Linked DNA regions of Homo sapiens: region 2 is linked to region 1. The links are contacts of gene promoters, found by promoter capture Hi-C in blood cells and fetal thymus (Javierre and others, 2016). All regions are on one chromosome and are shown on one strand. The core of a region is centred on a gene start or on the middle of the fragment in contact, and the rest is flanking DNA. Distances in the headings are between cores, read along the strand shown.

The links. The method cuts DNA at HindIII sites, captures the fragments that hold promoters and counts their contacts. A CHiCAGO score of 5 or more calls a contact.
Region 2: a contact is called between a fragment that was not itself captured here and the fragment with the promoter of ING4 in region 1, in 1 of 17 cell types (non-activated CD4 T cells). The highest score is 9.2, in non-activated CD4 T cells.

Annotation. Positions count from the first base shown.
Region 1 is chr12:6,659,668-6,666,091 of GRCh38, reverse strand. It overlaps ING4 (inhibitor of growth family member 4), which reads left to right and starts at 2,973. Exons shown (of 8, transcript NM_016162.4): 1 at 2,973-3,027. The coding sequence starts at 2,991. RefSeq lists an enhancer at 2,943-3,002. The HindIII fragment of the contact is 5,227 bases long and covers 1-3,859 here.
Region 2 is chr12:8,078,539-8,085,085 of GRCh38, reverse strand. It overlaps NECAP1 (NECAP endocytosis associated 1), which reads right to left and starts at 2,812. Exons shown (of 8, transcript NM_015509.4): 1 at 2,703-2,812. The coding sequence starts at 2,797. RefSeq lists enhancers at 2,570-2,629, 2,700-2,919, 2,351-3,550. The HindIII fragment of the contact is 1,287 bases long and covers 819-2,105 here.

The sequences.
Region 1 (6,424 bases), core at 1,724-4,223:
TGTGTATTTGTTACCTTGTGGAAATCATAACCGGTTAAGGGGTGCAAGATTGATTTATGCAGGAGAGCTGTAGTACTATGGAGTAGAATGTGGTCATGAAACCTGGACTTCAGCCCTTTGCCTACCATCAACCAGTGTTGGCCAGGGTGCTTCTTCAACTGTTAGTGAAGGGATTGGACTAGATAACTCTGAAGATACCTTTTTTGAGAATTAAGTAACTTGCTTTAAGGCTGGGTGCGGTGGCTCACGCCTGTAATCCCAGCATTTTGGGAGGGCGAGGCAGGCAGACTACTTGACGTCAGGAGTTCAAGACCAGCCTGGCCAACATGGTGAAACCCCATCTCTACTAAAAATACAAAAATTGATGGCCGTGCACGGTGGCTCACGCCTGTAATCCCAGCACTTTGGGAGGCCGAGACAGGTGAATCATGAGGTTAGGAGCTCGAGACCAGCCTGGCCAGTATGGTGAAACCCCGTCTCTACTGAAAATACAAAAAATAAGCTAGGCATAGTGGTGGGCGCCTGCAATCCCAGCTACTCAGGAGGCTGAGGCAGGAGAATCTTTTGAACCTAGGAGGCAGAGGTTGCAGTGAGCCAAGATCGTGCCATGGCACTCCAGCCTGGGCGACAGAGTGAGACTCTCTCTCAAAAAAGTAAAATAAAAATACAAAAATTAGCCAGGTGTGGTGGCACGCGCCTGTAGTCCCAGCTGCAGGCTGAGGCAGAAGAATGACTTGAACCTGGGAGGCGGAGGTTGCAGTGAGCCGGGATTGCACCACTGCACTCCAGCCTGGGCCACAGAGCGAGATTCTGTCTGGAAAAAAAAAAAAAAACAAAAAAAAAAAAACCTTGCTTTAAGCACCGAAAAAGTTGTGAAAGTTGTGACCAAGCTCCCACATCCTGAGAACTCTGGGACTGCTGGCCAATAGTACTTGTTATGTAGTTGGGCTGGGATAAATAAAGCCCACTTAATTTAGTGCTAGATATCCTGTGTGGGCACCTAAGATGGTGTCTCAATATGTTGTGTAATACCAATGAATGTATCACATATGACCAAATATGCCAATGTTTCTTAGCTCCCTGCATATTTACTGCTTTTTCCTCCCACTCTCACCAACTCTTGAAAAGGCCCTAATGGCCCTAACTTCATCACCAGTATTAGAACTAGAATCTACTCTTTTTATGGATACACTCACACTCACTTATTCCAACAACCCTATGAGGGAGGTAGTAGTCTCATTGTATAGTAAAACAGGCACAGAGATCAAGTTACCGAAAAGCATGACTTTTGTAATTAGAGCAGTTTCCCGGATTCTATTGCTGTATCTTACTACCTGCACACTAGTAAACCTGGGGTTTACAGGCTACAGATCCTTTCAGCTCTGATACCCCCACCACTCTACAGCCCCTGAACCCCCTCCTCCAGCCTGCTCTTACTGTCCAGATAATGTTTCAAATACATCCCTGCATCCATCTCGAAGCAAAACAAAGCAACTTCCAATCCGCCCCGGGTTGGAAGTTCCTCTTCTCCACATATTTGGTAGAAATTATATAGCTGAAAGTCTGTCTCTTTAAAAACTTGCCGTAAGACATTGGTAATTCTTATGAAGGATGTGTGAGGGTACGAAAAGTGTGAGGGGTGGCAGCTATCTCTAAAATACTATCTTACTAACACCACTATTAGGTTATGGCCTTTGTGTTGGCAGTGTGTTGACAGCCTAGTGTGTTGGCAGCCTCTCATACCCTTGACTGCTTCCCATTCTGATGAAAACCATAGAAATCACTCTACCATAGCTGACTAGAGTGATGGCTAGCAACTAACTAGCCAACTAGCCCAGTAGTGATACTGCTGCATCCCTCAATCCCTTCAGAATTATGATGCTAACATCACATATAAACAAAAGGAAAACAAAAACACGAGATTTCCCCCTTAGAGAGTAGCAAGAGGGGCCAGGCACAGTGGTTCGCACCTGTAATCCCAGCACTTTGAGAGGCTGAGGTGGGCAGATCACCTGAGGTCGGAAGTTCGAGACCAGCCTCACCGACATGGAGAAACCCCATCTCTACTAAAAATACAAAATTAGTCTGGCGTGATGGTGCATACCTGTAATCCCAGCTACACGGGAGGCTGAGACAGAAGAATCACTTGAACCCGGGAGGTGGAGGTTGCGGTGAGCCATGATCACGCCATTGCACTCCAGCCTGGGCAATAAGAGTGAAAATTCTGTCTCAAAAAAAAAAAAAAAAAAGCAAGAGGGCAAGGCAGGAAGTAATATTTTATATGTGAAAGTGTATTCTAGTGTAACGTACAGGAGCTCTGACAAAAGATGTGCAGAATTATAGCTTTATTATGAGTCATTCTTTGTATTTATAAGTAGAAAGGTGATCATCTTTCTCAAGTTAAAAAAATAATGCTGGGGGAGATGGTGTTTGTGTGAGTGAATAGAAATTCAGACGGTTTAAATGTCTCAAGGCCTGATACTCTTCCCCAACTTCCTTAAGAAACTAACTGGCTTGAAAAAAGTCATTCTGCAAAAGAGGGAAAAAAAGTTGGATCTTCCAGTTGCTGAGAAGGTATGTTTACGCAATATGAGCCTAAAGTGAACAGTTACCCCTGCACGGATTACCATACATTCCCGTTTTGGAGGGAAAAAAGTTTGCTAGAGAATGCAAAATGGCGACCTCCAGTGACGTCATACCTGTCTCGGTCGCGTCCTGGGGTGTCTGTAAGGGCGGAAGCGGGCTACAGCCGCCTCACTGTGGGCGGTCGTGGCTACCATGCAAAAGGAAAAGTTTCAGTGTCGGGCGGATGTGTACCGGCGGTAATATAGTAAGGGCGGAAGTTCTCCTTTAAGGGCGGAAGTTCTCCTTTTAAGGGCGGAAGTTCTCCTTTTAAGGGCGGAAAGGCTTTAGCCGCAAAATGGCTTCGGCCCCTGTCGCGTTACAGTCACTTCCGGGGCGGATCGGAAGTTGCTTTGTTTTGCTTCGAGATGGCTGCGGGGATGTATTTGGAACATTATCTGGACAGTAAGAGCAGGCTGGAGGTGGGGGTCGGGGCTGCAGAGTGGTGCGGGGATCAGGGATGAGAGGATCTGTAGCCCTTAAGTTCCAGTGACGAGAAGGTCACAATTATGAAGCGGTTCTGTGGCAGGAAATATTGGAGGGTGCGGAGAAAGAGGGGGCGGGGCAGCAGGATCGAGGCCCCGCTGATGGGTGTAGACGAGGGAGGGGTGCGGTGTGGGGGTTAGAGACGTGTCTTGAAGGGCTAGTGTGCATGGCCAGGAAGATAGTTGCTGCCCCCATTCTCCAGGGTCTCCAGCCTCGGTAGATTTTTTTCCCCATAGTCGTTCAGAATCGTTATCACACACTGCCATTTGGAGAAGCGGTAAAGACCTCTCCTCCACTCCATTCTTCCTCAAAAGTGGCTTCTCATGGGGTTGAGAGTGGTGGTGATGAGTGACCACTGTCAGATGATGAACTAGAACGCTTCTCTTCATGGAGTAAAGATCTAATTCCCATCAAATGAAAATCTGGTGTTTATGCGATTTATGTAAACCACCCCTGCAGAAAGCCTATTGCTCTGTGCGCTTACATTTGTTTTAGGGCCCGGAGTCATTTATTCAACAAATATTTATTGAGGTCCTGCTATGGGTCAGACATAATGGCAGGCACTAGGGATAGAAAAATGAGTAAGACAAGGCTCCTGCCCTCAAGAAGCTCACGATCTAGTAGGAAACAGATTCTGCAAATAATTATAAAACACTGTGACAAGTGAGATAATGGAAATACATTAAAAAGGACACTTGGTAGGCAACCCTGGAGAAAAGGGGGGTAATTACCTGGGGATGTAGGAAAAGCTTTACAGCGGAGGTGATGTTTGAATAGGGTCTTGAAGGTTATTTGCCAGTGAGGAGAGAAAAAAGGAATTCCAGGTTGGGGAAAGCATCCGCAAAGGTACTGTGATGGGTTTGTGGCAAGGTCAAGGGTGTTTGATATTTATGACTCAGAGGTCAGCGTATTTGATATTTATGAATCTAAGGTAAGAAATTGAGAAAGGAGACTGGAGAAAGAGGCTGAGGCTAGATTGGACAAGGTCTTTTAAGCCAAACGAAGAAGTTTGCATTTTAAAGTAGAGTATGATTTTTATAGAGGAAAATGACTAATATATGGTAAATTGGAGCATGATATTGTTGATAACAGAGATCAATTAGTGATAACATTCCAGGACAGAGATAAGAACCTGATTTTAGGGAGTTACAGAAGTATTTAGGAGTTAAATATGAAAGGACTGACTGAATGACTGAGTGGTTGAGAGAGAAGGAAGAATCTAAGGTGGCTTCTTCCTGCTTAGAAAGTGAGGTAGACAGGCTGGGCACAGTAGCTCATGCCTGTAATCTCAGCACTTTGGGAGGCCAAGGCGGGCAGATCACTTGAGGTCAGGAGTTTGAGATCACCCTGTCCAACATGGTGAAGCCCAGTCTCTACTTTAAAAAAAAAAAAAAATTAGCTGGGCATGGTGGCATGTGACTGTAATCCCAGCTACTTGGGAGGCTGAGTCAGGAGAATCACTTGAACCCAGCAGGTGAAGATTGCAGTGAGCTAAGATCATACATACCACTGCACTCCAGCCTGGGTGACAGAGAAAGACTCCGTGTCCCTCTCAAAAAAAAAAAAAAAAAAAAAAACAAAGGCTGGTGGCCAGGCACGGTGGCTCATGCCTGTAATCCCAACACTTTGGGAGGCTGAGGCAGGCGGATCATGAGGTCAGGAGATCGAGACCAGCCTGGCTAACATGGTGAAACCCCGTCTCTACTAAAAATAAAAAAAATAGCCAGGTGTGGTGGTGTGCCCCTGTAGTCCCAGCTACTTAGGAGGCTAAGGCAGGAGAATCGCTTGAACCTGGGAGGTGGAGGTTGCAGTGGGCCGAGATCATGCCACTGCACTCCAGCCTGGGCAACAGAGTGAGACTCCGCCTCAAAAAAAAAACAAAAACAAAAAGGCTGGGAGCGGTGGCTCACGCCTATAATCCTAGCACATTGGGAGGCTGAGATGGGTGGATCGCCTTAGGTCAGGAGTTCCAAGACCAGCCTGGCTAACATAGTGAAACCCCGTCTCTACTAAAAATACAAAAATTAGCTGGGCGTGGTGGCAGACGCCTGTAATCCCAGCTACTTGGGAGGCTGAGGCACAAGAATTCCTTGAACCTGAGATTGCGCCATTGCACTCCAGCCTGGGCGACAAGAGCGACACTACACCTCAAAAGAAAAGAAAAGAAAGTTACTCAGCGGAGAAAAGATCATGCCAACTGCTGCAGAGATATTTTTTAGGATAGGCTTAATAACACCATTAGATTTGGTAAATCACCAGTGACTCAGTCTTGTGAACTGGTGGTAGCAGACCTGAAGTTGTAGGTTTAAACAGTAGAGGCATTTTATTTTTTTTTATTTATTTTATTTTAGTTTTTCTGTTTGTTTGTTTGTTTTTGAGACAGAGTCTCACTCTGTCACCCAGGCTGGAGCGCAATGGTGCGATCTTGGCCCACTGCAACCTCTGCCTCCCGGGTTCAAGTGATTCTCCTGCCTCAGCCTCTTGAGTAGCTAGGATTACAGTGCCCGCCACCATACCCAGCTAATTTTTGTATTTTTAGTAGAGATGAGGTTTCACTGTGTTGGCCAGGCTGGTCTCAAACTCCCAACCTCAGGTGATCCACCCACCTTGGCCTCCCAGAGTGCTGGGATTACAGGCATGAGCCACCGTACCAGGCCTTTTATTTTTTATATATATATTTAATTTTTATAGAGACAGGATCTGGCCATATTGCCCAGGCTGGTCTCAGACTCCTGAGATCAAGCGATCTACCTGCCTTGGCCTCCCAGAATGCTGGGATTACAGGCGTGAGCCACTGTGCCCAGCAAGTAGAGGCATTTTTAAAGTTTTAGGTGGAGTCTTGGCAAGAGATTTCTCTTGTACTGGGGTGACAAATATTCATGCATTTATTCAAGTATTTACTGAGTACCTGCTCTTTGCAAGTCATAATTCTAAACACTATGGAAACAGGAGAGAATATGATAGCCATGTTCGGCCTGGGGAGACAGATACCAAATAACTAATTACACATTATTTTTTTTAATTTTTTTGTTTTTTGAAACAGTCTTGCTCTTTTGCCCGGGCTGCAACCTCTACCTCCCTGGTTCAAGCAATTGTCCTGCCTCAGTCTCTTGAGTAACTGGAACTACAGCCACAGGCCACCATGCCCATCTATTTTTTTTTTTTTTTTTTGAGACAGAGTCTCGCTCTGTCGCCCAGGCTGGAGTGCAGTGGAGCGATCTCGGCTCACTGAAAGCTCCACCTCCTGGATGCACGCCACTCTCCTGCCTCAGCCTCCCGAGTAGCTGGGACTACAGGCGCCCGCCACCACGGCCAG
Region 2 (6,547 bases), core at 213-2,712, 1.4 Mb before region 1:
ATTGCGCCAGCGCACTCCAGCCTGGGCAACACAGCCAGACTCCATCTCAAAAAAAAAAAAACTTCAAGAAAAAGAATATAATCCCACTTCAATATGTATCATATCCTTTAGGAGTCTTAACTCCTAAAGTTGGAAGTAATGAGCTATTTGACCTTATTTAACAGTTCAATCAATGCCACTTTATGTGATTAGGTTTCTCTGTGTAATCTACTGATTTCTTCTTTCAGTCAACATTTACAGGGTGCCCAAAGTGTACCAGATACTGTGCTAGACCCTGGGAATATAAAGTTAAAAAGATCTCAAGTTGTTCACAGTCTAGCCTGGAGAAAAAAGGAGACTAAACAATCCATTGTACAATCCACTGTAATCCATTACAATACAAAATGAAGAGCCCTGGAATAGAGATAAGAATAAAGTGCTATGCAGGAACAGAAAACCAAACACCACATGTTCTCACTCACAAGTGGGAGTTGAACAGTGAGAACGCATGGGCACAGGGAGGGGAACAACACACACTGGGGCCTCTCGGGGGAGGGGCGAGGATGACAGGTTGATAGGTGCAGCAAACCACCATGGCACATGCATACCTATGTAACAAACCTGCACATTCTGCACATGTATCCCAGAACTTAAAGTAAAAAAGAAAAAGAAAAAGGTGCTATGGAAGCACACAGGGTGCATATCTAAACCAGAATGGAAGGGTCACATAGGGCCTCCCAAAGAAGGTGATGTTTAAGTGACTCATATAGTACCTGTAACTACCATCTAAAAGCATGTTGATTTCTACTTAGGGTCAGTTTGGGGTCCAACTAAAAGCTTATTAAAAACAGAACTGCTACCTCTTTGCCAAAGGTGCAACCCACAGGGCCCAGCGCACAGGTCAGCAAGCATAAAAATATTGATTCATGATGAATAAAACGCCAGTAAGGGGCAAAATAACAGACATAAGGAGAGGGTAACTTTTCAGCCAAGGTAATGATAAATGCCAGGAGGAAAAATCACAATGATGATGTGGGTCAGAGAGAAGAATAAGAACAGTATCTTGGCCAGGTGCAGTGGCCCACACCTGTAATTTCAACACTTTGGGAGGCTGTGGCAGGAGAATCACTTAAGGCCAGGAGTTCGAGACCAGCCTGGGAAATATATCAAGATCCTGTCTACACAAAAAAATTTAAAAATTAGCCAGGCATTGTGAGGCAATGCCTGTAGCCCTAGCAACTTGGGAGGCTGAGGTAGGAGGATCCCTTGTGCCCAGGAGTACACAGCTGCCGTGAGCTGTGATTGCACCACTTGCACTCCAGCCTGGATGATAGAACGAGACCCTGCCTCTCTAACAAAAAAAAAAAAAAAAAAAAACGACGGCTGGGCGTGGTGTCACGCCTGTAATCCCAGTACTATGGGAGGCCAAGGTGGGCAGATCACAAGGTCAGGAGTTCAAGACCAGCCTGGCCAACTTGGTGAAACCCCATCTCTACTCAAAATACAAAAATTAGCCAGGTGTGGTGGTGCATGCGTGTAATCCCAACTATTCAGGAAGCTGAAGCAGGAGAATCGCTTGAACCCAGGAGGCGGAGGTTGCAGTGAGCTGAGATTGAGCCATTGCGCTCCGGCCTGGGCAACAAAGTGAGACTACATCTCAAAAAAAAAAAAAAAAAAAAAAAAAAGAACAAACAAATAGTATTTGTAACTGCTTTATTGCATTTCCTACATTCTTTCACATCCATTATATGATTTAATTTTACTCTCCCAAAAACCCTTGTTAAGCACATTATAAGAGCGCAGGTATCATCACTAACAGGTTTTTTTTTCTATTTTACAGATGAGAAAATTGAGGCTTGGAAAGGGCTCACACTCATATGGTTTAACATGAAGCCCAGTGAACTGTCTTTCAACTACATAATGTCCTATAGCATCCTCAGAACCTCACAGTCATTGGATTACAAGGTAGGTAGTTAGGCCCAACAGAGAAAAATGCTGCCTCAACTTTGGAGGGAAAAGGTGTAGGAGAGGTTAAGAAGGGAGGTAGGGAAGGAAGACAGAAAATACTATATAATCATCAAGAAAATACAATGAGAAGAAACAGAATGAACAACCGTTGTAAAGCTTATGATCATAACCTTTGCTCACTGGTAAAACTGCTGAAGGAAAAACCGAATGGTGGATGATGACAGTTGGTGACGAAATTGACAACAGTACAAAAAATAAATCAGATAATCCAGAGTGGCAAGCAACACGATTACCCATAAATGTGCATGGGGAACTGGAAAGGTGTGTGTGTGTGTGTGTGTGTGTGTGTGTGTGTGTGTGTGTGAGAGAGAGAGAGAGAGAAAGGATGAGGATGATAAGCTGAAGGACGCAGGGAAGAGCGAATGAAAGGGGACTGGCAATGGAGCAAGCACGACTGAAAGTGCATGATGGGGAGCAGATGGGTGCCCCAGGGGATTACGGGAGAGGCAGAGTGGAATAACGCAGAGTGGTAATTTAATAAAAAACAAAACAAAAAAAAAAACGGCAGAAATATGGTGATGACAGTCCAGAGTGGAGATGGAGCAGGTGGTCAGGGAGATGACAACCCAGGTAGGGAGGCTAGCAAGGTGACAATACAGAGGTAGTAGTGGCAGGGACGGACAGCGTGCTAGCTGAGAAGGAAGCTGTCATCTGCGACAGAGTACGCGTGTGCGGCAGCGCCTCGGGGTTAGTACCTGTAACCGCGGTTGGAGGCCCGGGGCGGAATCCGGTAGACGCTGACGTCTGGCTTCACACACAGCACAGACTCGTACTCCAACTCGGTCGCCATCTTGGGTCCGCTGTCGGCGCTGCCGGGGGCGAAACGTAAGACCGGAGGCGGAGCACGGGAGGCGGAGATGCAAAGCGCGACAACTTCTGTTGCGTCACTTCCGCGCGAGTTCAAGTTAGTTTCTGAGATTAACCTTTTCGGTGACGCGGGGAGCCATATTGAAACCTGGAAACGATGAGGCTGCACGGCTCACCGTCTTGGATAATGGCAAAGATGGCCTGCAAGTGCGTGACTCTCGTTATGGAAATCTCTGTCCTGGAGAGGTGCTTACGAAAAGCGCCATCTTACTCTAGGCAGGTGCCTGGAGTGTCCTACGAGGACGAGGACCATATTGAATCGTGACGGATTTTCTTACAGGAGTCACTTCCTAACTGTAGTCTCCTGGCAGAAAAGAGGCAACCTCCAGCCGGTAGTCCCAGACGAGGTACCTGCAGAGAATGATGTATGATCTGGTCATAGACACCGTGGATTTCAACTCTCCAGAGTCTAAACGCTGAAAACACCCAACTTGATTTAGTGCCTTACACTCTTTATCTCCGATTTTTCAGGACGACACCTGTTAAAATGTTTTGCCACACTTTCGGCGTGTATTCCGATTATCTTTTTGGAAAATTTGATCCTGTTAAATAGACTATACGTGGGATCAACCCAATTCCTGATAAAATCGGAAGCATAATGAACTATCTAATGGCCTATATTAGCTCCCAGTTCTATTATAATGATAAATGCTACCGAACTCTCACCATAAATATGCTTTTTCTGCGCCCCAAAGGTAAACTTAACCACAACACCCTGACAGTACAGATAGCAAGTGGCAAAACTGAGACAGAAACTCAAGCCTGCCTCATTACAACAGCAGCAGTCTTCACCGCTGCTGGAGCTGGCAAGGTCACCAAGTCTGCCCAGAAAGCTCAGAAGGCTAGATGAATATCATCCCTAATACCTGCCACCCCACTCTTAATCAGTGGTGGAAGAACGGTCTCAGAACTGTTTGTTTCAACTGGCCATTTAAGTTCAGTAGTAAAAGACTGGTTAATGAAAACAATGCATCGTAAAACCTTCAGAAGGAAAGGAGAATGTTTTGTGGACCACTGGTTTTCTTCTTCAGAAGGAAAGGAGAATGTTTTGTGGACCACTGGTTTTCTTTTTTGCGTGTGGCAGTTTTAAGTTATTAGTTTTTTAAATCAGTACTTTTTAATGGAAACATCCAAAAATTTGTCACAGAATTTTGAGACCCATTAAAAAAGTTTAATGAGAAAAAAAAAAAAAGCAAACCTGCCTCTAATTTGTCTGCTCCACCTTGGAAAGTGATATCTTAAATTTCAAAAAGAATTACCACATTTATCCCTGGCGAGGACGTGAGGAACAGTCTAATCTCATACACTGTTGGCAGGAATGTAAATTGGCACGGCATTTTTAAAAGGGAAATTAACAGAATTTATCAAAATATTAATTGGACGTAATCTTCAATTTAGCAGTTTCACTAATAAATATTGTAGAGAAATCCTTATATGCACAAAAAAGTATGTACAATAATACTACAGCATTGTTTGTAATAGTGAAAAAAATGGAAACAAAATGACCATCTATCAATGGGAAATGGTTAATGGTATATCTATTACTATGAGATGTTTTGAACTAAAGGGTTAGCCATTGAAAGAGATCCAAGATTTTTTAAAGCCAACTGCAAAAAACATACAGCATTATCAACTTTTGTCGAAACACCCCAAAATTATATATGCATGCATGTAAATGCATTGAGAAGGCTTTCAAAGGATATAAGGCTAAGTGGGGGAAAGAAACTTATTTTCTCCTCCATATATTTCTCTGTTGTTTAAGATTTATATAGCTATTATTGTCACTGAATACATGTTAAAAGAAAAATAAAGACAGAAAAGTGGTTTATTACTTGTTGTTCCTTATTTCTGACCCTATGATCTCATCTGAAGCCTAGGTCATATGACTACACCACATTGTACCTCTTTTTTTTTCTCTGTTCTGTGTTATCACTGGCAATCATTTTTGGAGGATTCTGGCTTCTGGTTCACCTTCTTACTAGTTTATACTCTTCCTCTTCTCCCAAATCTTTTAGAGATTTCAAAGCCCATATAGTTAACTCTTCCTAGCCATACAATCTCTTGACATAAATTCTAACTATCTTTACCTCTCTTTTCTACCTCACCTGTTCTTCTTCATGTTCTGCACATTGTTAGCCTTCTCTTTATTCCTCCCATCTCCTTGTTTCAACAGTTCTCTTGCCAGCATCCTTAAGTTTCCTTTCCTCTTTGTCTTTCCATCACAGCCAACCCAAAAGACTCCAGTCTTATATATTCCAACCATCTCCCTCCATCATTCTCCAAAAGCAAATCACACAATTATAAAGATTGGTGTCCCTAAAAGTTTATGGGTTTGAGTCTCAGCTTTGCCCTTAACACCCAGATTTGCCATTGCTAGTTTTTATTTTCATTCCCTTTAATGGTTGTTCCAAATTTTGCTGCCCTTTCAGGCCTTCAACTCTAAGTCTTCTCTTTTTCTTTCTTGACAGGTAAAACATCTTACTACTTCCCTAAGAAAATAAAGTTTGTGTGAACTCTCTCAACTTAATGACACCCTATTCATACTCCTATCTGCATCTTCATCTATTCTTTCTCCTATCCACTTGTGTGTGCCCTGGATTCTCCTCAGGGACCAATCTCCTCAGGGACCTGGTTAATCAGTTATCTCCTTTCTTTCCTGTATCTTAAAACTCATTTTCCATTCACCCCTTTCCCTCACCATGTAAGTATATTCAAGTCCTTTCACCTAAAAAAAAAAAAAAAAAAAAACCCTTACTTAACCATGTTTTTTCTTTATATAAATTTAAATTTCCCTTCTCTTGCTTCATCTCAACAGAAACAGAAAAAAATACAGTCTTCCTCACTCTCACCCACGATGTCTTCTCTAGCTTAACTGATCACATTGCCATAATTTTCCATACATGCCATTTTTATTCATGCTGAACATATTTGTCCAGACTGAAATGCACTTCCCGTTCATTCCTTGGTAAGATGCCTTTAGATCTAATCTAAATATCAATTTATCTCAGAAGTTTTCCTCAACTTCTCTAAATAGAACTGGTAACTGCCTCCTCTATGCTCCCACAACATTTGTACAGCTGTTTTAGTTCTTAGCACATTGCATTCAACTGCTTGTTGGCATCTCTGTTTTCCAAGGGAAAGAAACAGGTTTGTGTTTTCCCAGTATCTAGCACAGTTTTCAGACTATAGTAAGAACTCTGTATGTTTATTTGCTAAATGAATGATCATTTCAGCCTGCCTTAACAGGGATGATTTGTTCTTTCCCAATCAAAATAATTAAAAATGTCTTGGGCCGGCACAGTGGCTCACGCCTGTAACCTCAGCACCTTGGGAGGCTGAGGCAGGCAGATCACTTGAGGTCAGGAGTTCAAGACCAGCCTGGCTAACATGTTGAAACCCTGTCTCTACTGAAAATACAAAAACTAGCTGGTCATAGTGGTGCATGCCTGTAATGCCAGCTACTTGGGAGGCTAAGGCAGGAGAATTGCTTGAACCCAGGAGACGGAGGTTGCAGTGAGTCAAGATCATGCCACTGCACTCCAGCCTGGGCTACTGAATGAGACTCCGTATCAAAAAAAAATAAACTAAAATAAAAAAATTAAAAATGTCTTGTCTCGAACTTATCTTTGCCCACCACCGGGGGGTAGTAGCTACACAGCTCACAGGTTCTGGG